Regions from separate parts of the Homo sapiens genome. Here region 2 is linked to region 1. The links are contacts of gene promoters, found by promoter capture Hi-C in blood cells and fetal thymus (Javierre and others, 2016). All regions are on one chromosome and are shown on one strand. Each heading gives the region's core, a stretch centred on a gene start or on the middle of the fragment in contact. The rest is flanking DNA. Distances are from core to core; before and after follow the strand shown. Region 1 holds the start of LINC01973 (long intergenic non-protein coding RNA 1973). Region 2 has its middle 140 kb from the start of MIR4316.

Region 1 (4,495 bases), core at 888-3,387:
CTGCTCCGTGAAATGACGGAATTGGACACAGCTCACAGCTCACTCTGGAGTTAACTGAAGCCCTTGAAGGAAAACCACCAGGTTTTCTAAGAGTTTATGGCATTATTTATTTTTATTATCCTCACCAAAAATTTATGTTCAGCCACTTTTTTTTTCCTCTAAATTTTCTGGAACGTTTCTCCTTAGTGTTCTTCATTCATGAAGCACATAAAAGTCTCTTTGACCTTATCTCTCTCTCTCTTTTTGTAAAGCTCTTCTTGGTATTATTGAATTTTATTCATAGCAAGACCCATCTGAGGCAATCCTGGTGCAATCTTCCTCACTTTGTCTGTCTTCCTTCCTTCCTTCTTTCCTTTCTCCCTTCCTTCTCTCTCTCTTTGTGTCTTTCTTTCTTTCTTTTTCTTTCTCTCTCTCTCTTTCTCTCTCCTTCCTTCCTTCTTTCCTTCCTTCCTCTCTCCCTCCCTCCCTCCCTTCCTTCCTTCCTCCCTTCCTTCTCTCTCTCTTTCTTTTCTTTCTCTCTCTCTTTCTGTCTCTCTCCTTCCTTCCTTCCTTCCTTCCTTCCTTCCTTCCTTCCTTCCTTCCTTCCCTTCTTTCTTTCCTCCCTCCCTCCCTCCTTCCCTCCCTCCCTCCCTTTCTCTCTCTCTCTCTCTCTTTCTTTCCTGTCTCCAATCATCCACCCACCCACCTATCCATCCACCCACCCGCCCATCCATCCATCCACCCACTCACCCATCCATCCATCCACCTACCCACCCACCCATCCATTCATCCACCCACCCATCCATTCATCCATTCTTTCACCTAGTCATCCACCGATTCAACCACCCATCCACCCATCCAGTTATCTACCCACCCACCCATTCACCACCCACCCACCCACCCATCCATCCACCCATCCATCCAATCATCCACCCATCCATCCAACCACCTATCCACCCACCCTTTCACCCATCCACCCATCTATCTATCTATCCATCCATCCTCCATCCATCCATCCATTCATTTAACAAAAGAGACAATCTCCTGTCCCCTTTGGGAACACTGCCAAGTTTTCTCTGCCTTGCAGCTGGGTCGAGTTGACATTTGGCAGAAGGAGGTGGGTGGTACATTTTGCATCAGGGCCTAGGCCTGCCTCAGACACAGGTGTTCAGCTCCATGCCAGGACTAATGCTGGGCATGGAAAGCTGGAGAGGTGGCTTTGTGCCCAGGGCCGGTTGTAGCATCTTGGCATGTTTCTGTTCCCAAAGTCCCCAGTGGGCACAGGGACATTCAGCCATCTTCAGAGATAGCTACCATTTAAAGCAACAAGGAGATAGGACAACCATCACTTTCCCTGACTCCAGTGAGACCTGGAGGCTGTCCTGCAAGTGAGATGCCACCTTAAGCTCTTCATGAGCAGAGTTGCCCATAGCCCTTAGCTCACTGCAGGAAGCAACCAATGTGGCCCCCACATTAGTAGCCCTCAGAGCCAGACCAAGTTCAAAATTTGGTTAACAAACCTGTAGGCTTCTTCTTGTTTTCAAATGTCACAGAAAATCTTTTTGTGCTATTGTAGGAATGGAATCTCTCCTTCCTTCAGCCTCATCTGAGTTGAGGTGGGGAGAGTTGGACACAAAGTTCAAGGGGAGAGAACACTCAAAACAGCCCCCAGAAAGCCAAGGCAGGGGTTGGCACACCAAAATGACACAGAGACAGCTCCATGCCCTAATGGGTCGATCCCATCCTTCAATAACAGTGGGTGGCTGGGATCTTCTGCATTTCACGGGAGGCTCAGGGAGATGAAGCAACTTGCCTGAGGTGTCACAGGTGTAGGAAGGAGAGTAGGGGCAGATGGGGCCCAACTCCAGGTTTGCCTGGATGCAGAGCCACGCGTTCCCCCCGCCTCCTCCTTGATGGGTTCTCTCTGCACGCTTCAGGGTGCCCCCATGCTCTGCTCGGCCCCTGCAGCAGGAGGGCACAGAGCTCACTGCTGGCTGGTCTCCATGGCAACAGCTGACGAGTCTGCATCAGATGATGGCAGAGCTGCCTTGGAGCGCGAGCTTGGCTGTGACGGCAGGGACTTGGGAGGAGAGGAGCTGGAGGAGTGGGGGATGGGGCATGAGCTGGGGTGCCGGATGGGCTGCTCTCCCAGCAGCCATTTGGAAGATGCTTCCAGTCAAGTCTCAATCTCAGTCGGTCACTGGTCCATGTATATTTCATGGACATCTACCCTGTGCTGGGCACTGGGCAGACAACAGTCTACTGGACCCAGTCTCACTCTCAAGGGGACTGTAGTCCAAGAGAGAGGCAGGTAGATTATCAGGTAATTCCAGCTCACCACGATTGATGGGAAGGTAGGGAAAGTTTGGGATACATGCAAGGCCGTAGGAGAGGCACCCCACCGGGGCTTGGGGGCAGGAAAGTTTTCCAGGAGAGAGGGATATCTACGTGGCTTTCTGGCGGGGGGGGGGGGGTCGGGGAGAGAGAGAGAGGGAGAGAGGGAGAGAGAGAGAGATGAATGAGATCTGCCAGGAGTCCTCAGTGCCTGGAGCTCCAAGGGAGGAAGGCTAGGGAGGGAAGCCATGCTTGTCCTGGGGCCGAGATGAGGAGGAAGGGGAGGGTCTGCTCCAGGCCAGCCCTGGACAAGGGGATAAATTTTGTCTTCACCAGACACTGAATTGGTCATCCTCACCTCCCACCTTACAGATGAAGAAACTGAGGCTCAAAGAGCCACAGCGGGACGGAGGAGGTGGACCCGGCTCTGATGCAGGTGGCTGGTTCGATGGCAGACTCCCCTGTGCCGAGACTCCCAGACCAAATCCGGAGGTCCTGGAGTAGAGTGGGTGGGTCCGCCAGGGCATGGCCAGGCTGCCTGTCTCTGGAGACTCCCCCAAGGAAGTTTCTTGACCTTGAGGATGATAACGCAGGGCAGGCTCTTGAGGGCTGTGCAGGGACTCCCTGGAGAGCCCTGGGAAAAGCAGGTCCCCGCCTGCCTGGGCCTCTGCCTCTGCTGCAGGGGCCAGCACAGGTGTCAGGTCCCCACACATTTCATGTCCAGGCCATTTTCCCACTCTAGGGCCAAGGCTGGGCACTTCCCAGTCAGTGGCACAGCTGGTACTGTGGGGTCTCTCGCTCTGCAAAGGTTGGTTTCAATCCCAAGTGTCACTGCTGGAAACACTGGCCACCCCGGGACATGTGGTCTTGCCAGTCCTTCTGCAGGGCTCTGTTTCTTAGGTCCCAATCATCTGCAGGGAGCACTAGTCCGAGATCTTCCAAGATGCTGGGCAGGAACAAGCCTGCTATGCTCATTCCCAAAGGACTCCACATCTAGATAAATGAAGGCCTGGAAGGCTCTTTGGCTCTACACTAGCAAAACAGCTTACGTCACCCTGCCTAAAGAGACAGTCAGGAAATCCCCTTGTTCCTGGGCGAGGAGAAGCTGGCCCACACGGAGTGACGGCATTGAGCAGATACTACCCTTGGCTCGCTCATGGATGGGGCGGGGCCTGCTGACCTTGACAGCAATCAGGGGAGGGGGTTTGGAGGGAAGGGGTTAGCTGGTGAAGGTGAGGGAAAGGACTGGAGTTAGGACAGGGTGCAGCGACCACATCCTGTGACGAGGAGGCATCTGTGACCTGTGTGATCTGCCAGGCAGGCAGCACAAGTCATTGTACTGCTACTATGCCCGCTACTGAGACAGGAACAAAGAGAGGCTGTTTCTGCCTCTTGGTGCTCTCCATTGGACATGTCTGCTGGGCAGTGCTGGCTTTTACCATAGGTATTTTTCTGCTCTTCCTTCCCTCCTCCTCTCCCTCTCTCTTTTCCAGGGCACTCACACACACACACTTGCACACATGTGCACAGTTGCACACACATGCATTGAACACATGTGCACATATATGCGTTTGCATCCACTTGCACACCCACACACCTGTGCACTAGCACCCATTTGCACGCATGTCCACACACTTGCACACATGTGCATTTGCAGAAATGCACCCTTGCACTTGTGTGACACACCTGCACACTTGCATACACCCATTTGCATACAGGCACAGACACACTCGCATACATTTGCACACACAGCCACAAACTTGCACAAGCAGCACTTGTACACTGACACATATCCGTTTGTGCCTATACAGTGCACACTTACACATTTGCACACAGCTGTGCTTGCTCACACATTTGCACACACCCACCTACACACTTGCACACATACTACACACTTGAGCGTGCAGCACACATACCTATGTGCATACATGCACATTTGCACATGCACACAGCAGTGGCACACACTTCTCTATCACTCTCCCTAGTCACTGTTCTCCCCTGTGATTCCCACCCCTCTGACCGCCCCTGCTCACTTGCTGCCCCCTCCACTGGAAGGGGCCTGGCCTGGTGCCCTGTCTCTGTCTGTCTCCACCGTGCAGGGAGGTTTCACAAGGACTGGCTGATGTCTCGCCTCGAGCTGGCCTGGCCGCAGCTGCTGCTGAGCGGAAGTCTCTGAGGGGCG
Region 2 (4,495 bases), core at 1,068-3,567, 340 kb after region 1:
GGTTGGAAGAGTGTTTCTTGATAAATATCAACATTTCTTCAACGTAGTTGCCTGGTCTTTGTAAGGAGTGTGGCTCACTCGGGGCAGCCGGGGGTCCTACAAGGAAATGCATTCATTCATTGAGCAAACAACCTCTACCGTGCGCTAGTGCACTAGGTATGGATTTAGTGATGATAGAAACAACCACCACAGGAAGAGACAAGGTCCCTGTCCTTGTGGCGCTGAAGCTGGAAGGAAACTCACAGATAATTCCGAGTGGGTGAGCTGAGGTGTGGGGAGGAGACGCGGAGACCGCAGGGGCGACCTGCCTGGTCTGAGGAGCTGGGAAAGGCTTGCCTGGGGAGGCCGCATGTGAGCTGACAGCTGAAGACAGACAAAGAGCCTTTTTCAATTAACAAAGAGGAAGAGGCCTCGCGGAAGATTTTTCCTGGGGGCTCAGAGTTTATGCAAATTAACCCAGCCCAGAACGAGGAATTCTAATTGGCCCCAGCAGGTGCCTCCTCGGCAGGGTCGTCCTGCAGTTGGGCACCTGTGTGAACGTCTCCATCAGGGTCCCCGAGGCCAGCACTGGCTGTCAGACCCAGTCTCCTCAGACCCGGAGATTTTTACCTGAAATTCACATTGAGTCTTCACTCCCCGTTCCTTTCGAACTAACTCCCCCTGACAGGCAAGTCCTTATAGAAAGCGACAAAGCTTCCAGTCCTGTGGCTTGGCTGAGAACGACTGAGAAACCAGGATGGGAAGAGGCCAAAGAGGACACAGTGGACTGAGCTGGGCTGGGCATCGGGGAAGGCTGGACCTCAGGGTCGTCAGGTCCCTGCAACGCGGGGCTGGCTCCGACGGTCCCTCTGGAAGGCGAAGCACTGCTGCACTAGTGAATTCATCCAGTGCATCCTCACAGAGCCCACCAGAACAAGGCGGTGGCAGGACTGGGGTCAGGGCTTCCCTTAGGTGCCACACGTTGTCACTGCCAGGATGAGGCATGGGAGCTCTGGCTGTGCCCACTTAAGCCCATCTGGAGGAGCAGGAAGTGCCACACCTAGAAGGTGGCAGGTGTGTTGAGGATGTGAATAAAGGTCAGCAGAGTGCCACAGGGAAAGTCAGCTGATGGCAGTGGGGACAGGGGTCCGGGTGGAAGGAGCCATTGGACATGGCTCATGGCAAAGCCAGCCTGGTGCTTCGGAGAAACTGGAGCGCAAAATACACAACAGAAGGGGCAAGAGAGGAGCCGCCCTGGCCCTGCAGGTAAGGATGAGCCTTCAAGCCAGATTAAGGAGTCAGGCTGTATCCTGAGGGCAAAGGAGAGCCACTGCAGGCTTTCCATGGAGGAGTGAGGAAACTGAGCACAAAGTAGATGTTCTTTAAACACCTTTGAGGCTGGGTGTGGGGGCTCGTAATCCCAACACTTTGAGAGGCCAAGGCAGGAGGATCATTTGAGGCAGGAGTTCAAGACCAGCATGGGCAACATAGTCAGACCCCCATCTCTACAAAAATATTTTTTAAAATTAGCCGGGCATGGTGGCATGTACCTGTGGTCCCAGCTACTCTGGAGGCTGAGGCGGGAGAATTGCTTGAGCCTGGGAGGTTGAGGCTGCAGTGAGCCAAGACTGTACCACGGCACTCCAGCTTGGTGGACAGGGCAAGACCCTGTCTTGCTACCTAGGAGGGGCCCACCAAGATTCACCTCCTAAGCAGAAACTCAGGTATGGTTGAAAGGGGCTTATTAAGGCTAACAAGACTCTCACCCCTATCATTCAGGAAACTCTAAAAGTTTTAGAAGCTCTTCTACCAGGAACAAAGTCCAAATATATATTGTTTATTATATCACAGTATCACATATTATAATCCCTAAGTTAGCCGCTATTAAAAATGCAAAAGTACAGCTAAAATGCCAATAAACTAATTAAAATGGGGATACCAAAAAATATGATTAACCTAAAAGAAGTCAGGAAAAGAGAAACAGGGAAACAAAACAAAACAAAAAAAACAGAAGGGACAAAAAGAGAACAAATGTCATAATGGCAGATCTAAATCCAGCTACATCTATAATCACGCTTAACAGAAATGCACTGAACATCCCACTTAAAAGGCAGAGATAATCTGGCTGAATAACACTGCAAGATCCAGCTATGTGTCATCTCCAAGAGATACATTTTATTTTTTGTTTTGTTTTGTTTTTTGAGACGGAGTCTCGCTCTGTCGCCCAGGCTGGAGTGCAGTGGCGCAATCTCGGCTCACTGCAAGCTCTGCCTCTGGGGTTCATGCCATTCTCCTGCCTCAGCCTCCCAAGTAGCTGGGAATACAGGCACCCGCCACCATGCCTGGCTAATTTTTTGTATTTTCAGTAGAGACAAGGTTTCACCGTGTTAGCCAGGATGGTCTCGATCTCCTGACCTCATGATCTGCCCACTTTGGCCTCCCAAAGTGCTGGGATTACAGGCGTGAGCCACCGTGCCTGGCCGAGATATATTTTAAATATAAAGACACAGACAGACTAAAAATAAAAGGATAAAAAAAAGTATGACAGGCAAACAATAAGTGCAAAAAACAGGTGTGGCTATGTTACTGTAATAGGCTCAAGACAAAGAGTATTGCCAAAGAGATAGAGGGAGACTGCATAATGACGAAAGGATATGTTTATTGGGAAATCCTAACAATCTTAAATGTATATGCATCTAATAACAATTTCAAAATAAATAAAGCAAAACCTGTCAGAATTAAAAGGAGAAATAGACAAATCCAAAAATTACAGTTGGAGATTTTAATACCTTTCTTTCAGCAACTGACAGAGTCAGTAAACAAAAAAAATCAAAAAATCAGTAAGGACATTGAGCATTCTAACAACTATTGTGACCTAATTGATATTTAAGGTCCACTACACCCCGTGATTACAGAATACATGTTCTTTACAAAGGCACGTGGAGCCCTCACCAAGATAGTCCATATGCTGAGACATAAAATAAGTCTGGACCAATTTTGAAGATCAAAATCTCACAGAGTATGACCTCAGATACAAAGGAATTATATAAAAGGAAAACATCTGTCTTAAGCCAAACCATCTGAAACATGCCCATCCAAATTTAGGGAAACTCATACAGCCAGATAAATAGACACAAATGTAATTTTATTAAGATCTTACATTAATATTCGTTCAGATTAATGTACACTGCCTCTCCCCAGCTGCTCTGAATCTCTGTGGTTTTGCCAGCCCCACCAGCCAAGTCTGCACTGAACCTAAAGCTCATTATCATTGTGACAACCTCCCATCACCTGCTGCTGGCACCTCTCTTGTGACACCCATTATTCTCTCTCTTGTTTTGTGATGGGGTAAGACAGCACATTCCTGGTCCTTTCTCCCCGACTGTCAGCTCCTCAAGGGCAGCATCAGGACCCGACACACGGTAGGCACCCAAAGGGCATGCTGCATGAAAGTGATTGCCGGCCGGGCGCAGTGGCTCACACCTGTAATCCCAGCACTTTGGAAGGCTGAGGCGGGTGGATCACCTGAGGTCAGGAGTTCGAGACCAGCCTGGCCAACATGGTGAAACCCGTCTCTACTAAAAATACAAAGATTAGCTGGGCGTGGTGGCGGACGCCTGTAGTCCCAGCTACTCAGGAGGCTGAGGCGGAAGAATCGCTTGAACCCGGTAGGTGGAGGTTGCAGTGAGCCGACATTGTGCCACTGCACTCCGGCCTGGGTGACAGAGAGAGACTTGTTCTCAAAAAAAAAAAGAAGGAGAAGAAGGAGGAGGAGGAGGAGGAGCAGCAGAAGAAGAAGAGGAAGAGGAGGAGGAAGAAAGTGATTGTCGTCATCATCACTGCCACTGTCACCATCATCATAGGATGACACCAAAGATCCCATCTCACTTAATGCTCCAGTCACTCAACCAGGGCAATCCCCACCACTCCTGAAGCACACAGATCTAGTGTTCCTAAGCTTTATTTCACATTCAGTAAGAAGCAACGCATCACCCCACCATAGACCCACACAACTGTCCTTCATTGTGGCAAGTCACTGGCACATGTTTGTGAGCACTTTGTTAGAGCTCAAGGTCAAATGAGGGCTCTAAGAGCCTAGAAATTGGAGACTGGCCTCCAGACTCTGTATGACCCAGATTGCAACTTCCACTGACCCAGGGGTGCTTGACTTTTTGGAGGGCAATATAGGATCTGGGATGGGATCCGCTGTCCAATGGCTGGGGCTCGAATCCTAGTTCTACCACTTCCTAGCTATGTGACCTTGGGCACTTACTTGAAATAAACCTCAACTTCCCCATCTGTAAAACAGGAATAATGCTAGGACCTAACCTCATGGATTATCTCATTCAGTGCTCCTGCAGCTGTATGAGGTTAGGTCCTAGAATTATTCCTGTAGTACTAACACTTTTAATCGTTCCCAATACCCTTGTATGGTGGCTATTATTCCTATTTTAAAGTGATGAGGCCGGGCACAGTGGCTCATGCCTGTAATCCTAGCACTCTGGGAGGCTGAGGC

The links. Contacts are between HindIII fragments. The CHiCAGO score rates a contact against its expected background, and 5 or more counts as called.
Region 2: a fragment that was not itself captured here is called in contact with the fragment with the promoter of LINC01973 in region 1 in 1 of 17 cell types (megakaryocytes); the score reaches 8.3 in megakaryocytes.

Annotation. Positions count from the first base shown.
Region 1 is chr17:77,881,729-77,886,223 of GRCh38, reverse strand. It overlaps LINC01973 (long intergenic non-protein coding RNA 1973), which reads left to right and starts at 2,137. Exons shown (of 2, transcript NR_028337.1): 1 at 2,137-2,302; 2 at 2,686-4,495. RefSeq lists an enhancer at 3,300-3,659. The HindIII fragment of the contact is 12,286 bases long and covers 1-4,495 here.
Region 2 is chr17:77,537,088-77,541,582 of GRCh38, reverse strand. No RefSeq gene overlaps it. Among named protein-coding and RNA genes, the nearest start is that of MIR4316, 140 kb to the right of the region's middle. The HindIII fragment of the contact is 3,244 bases long and covers 696-3,939 here.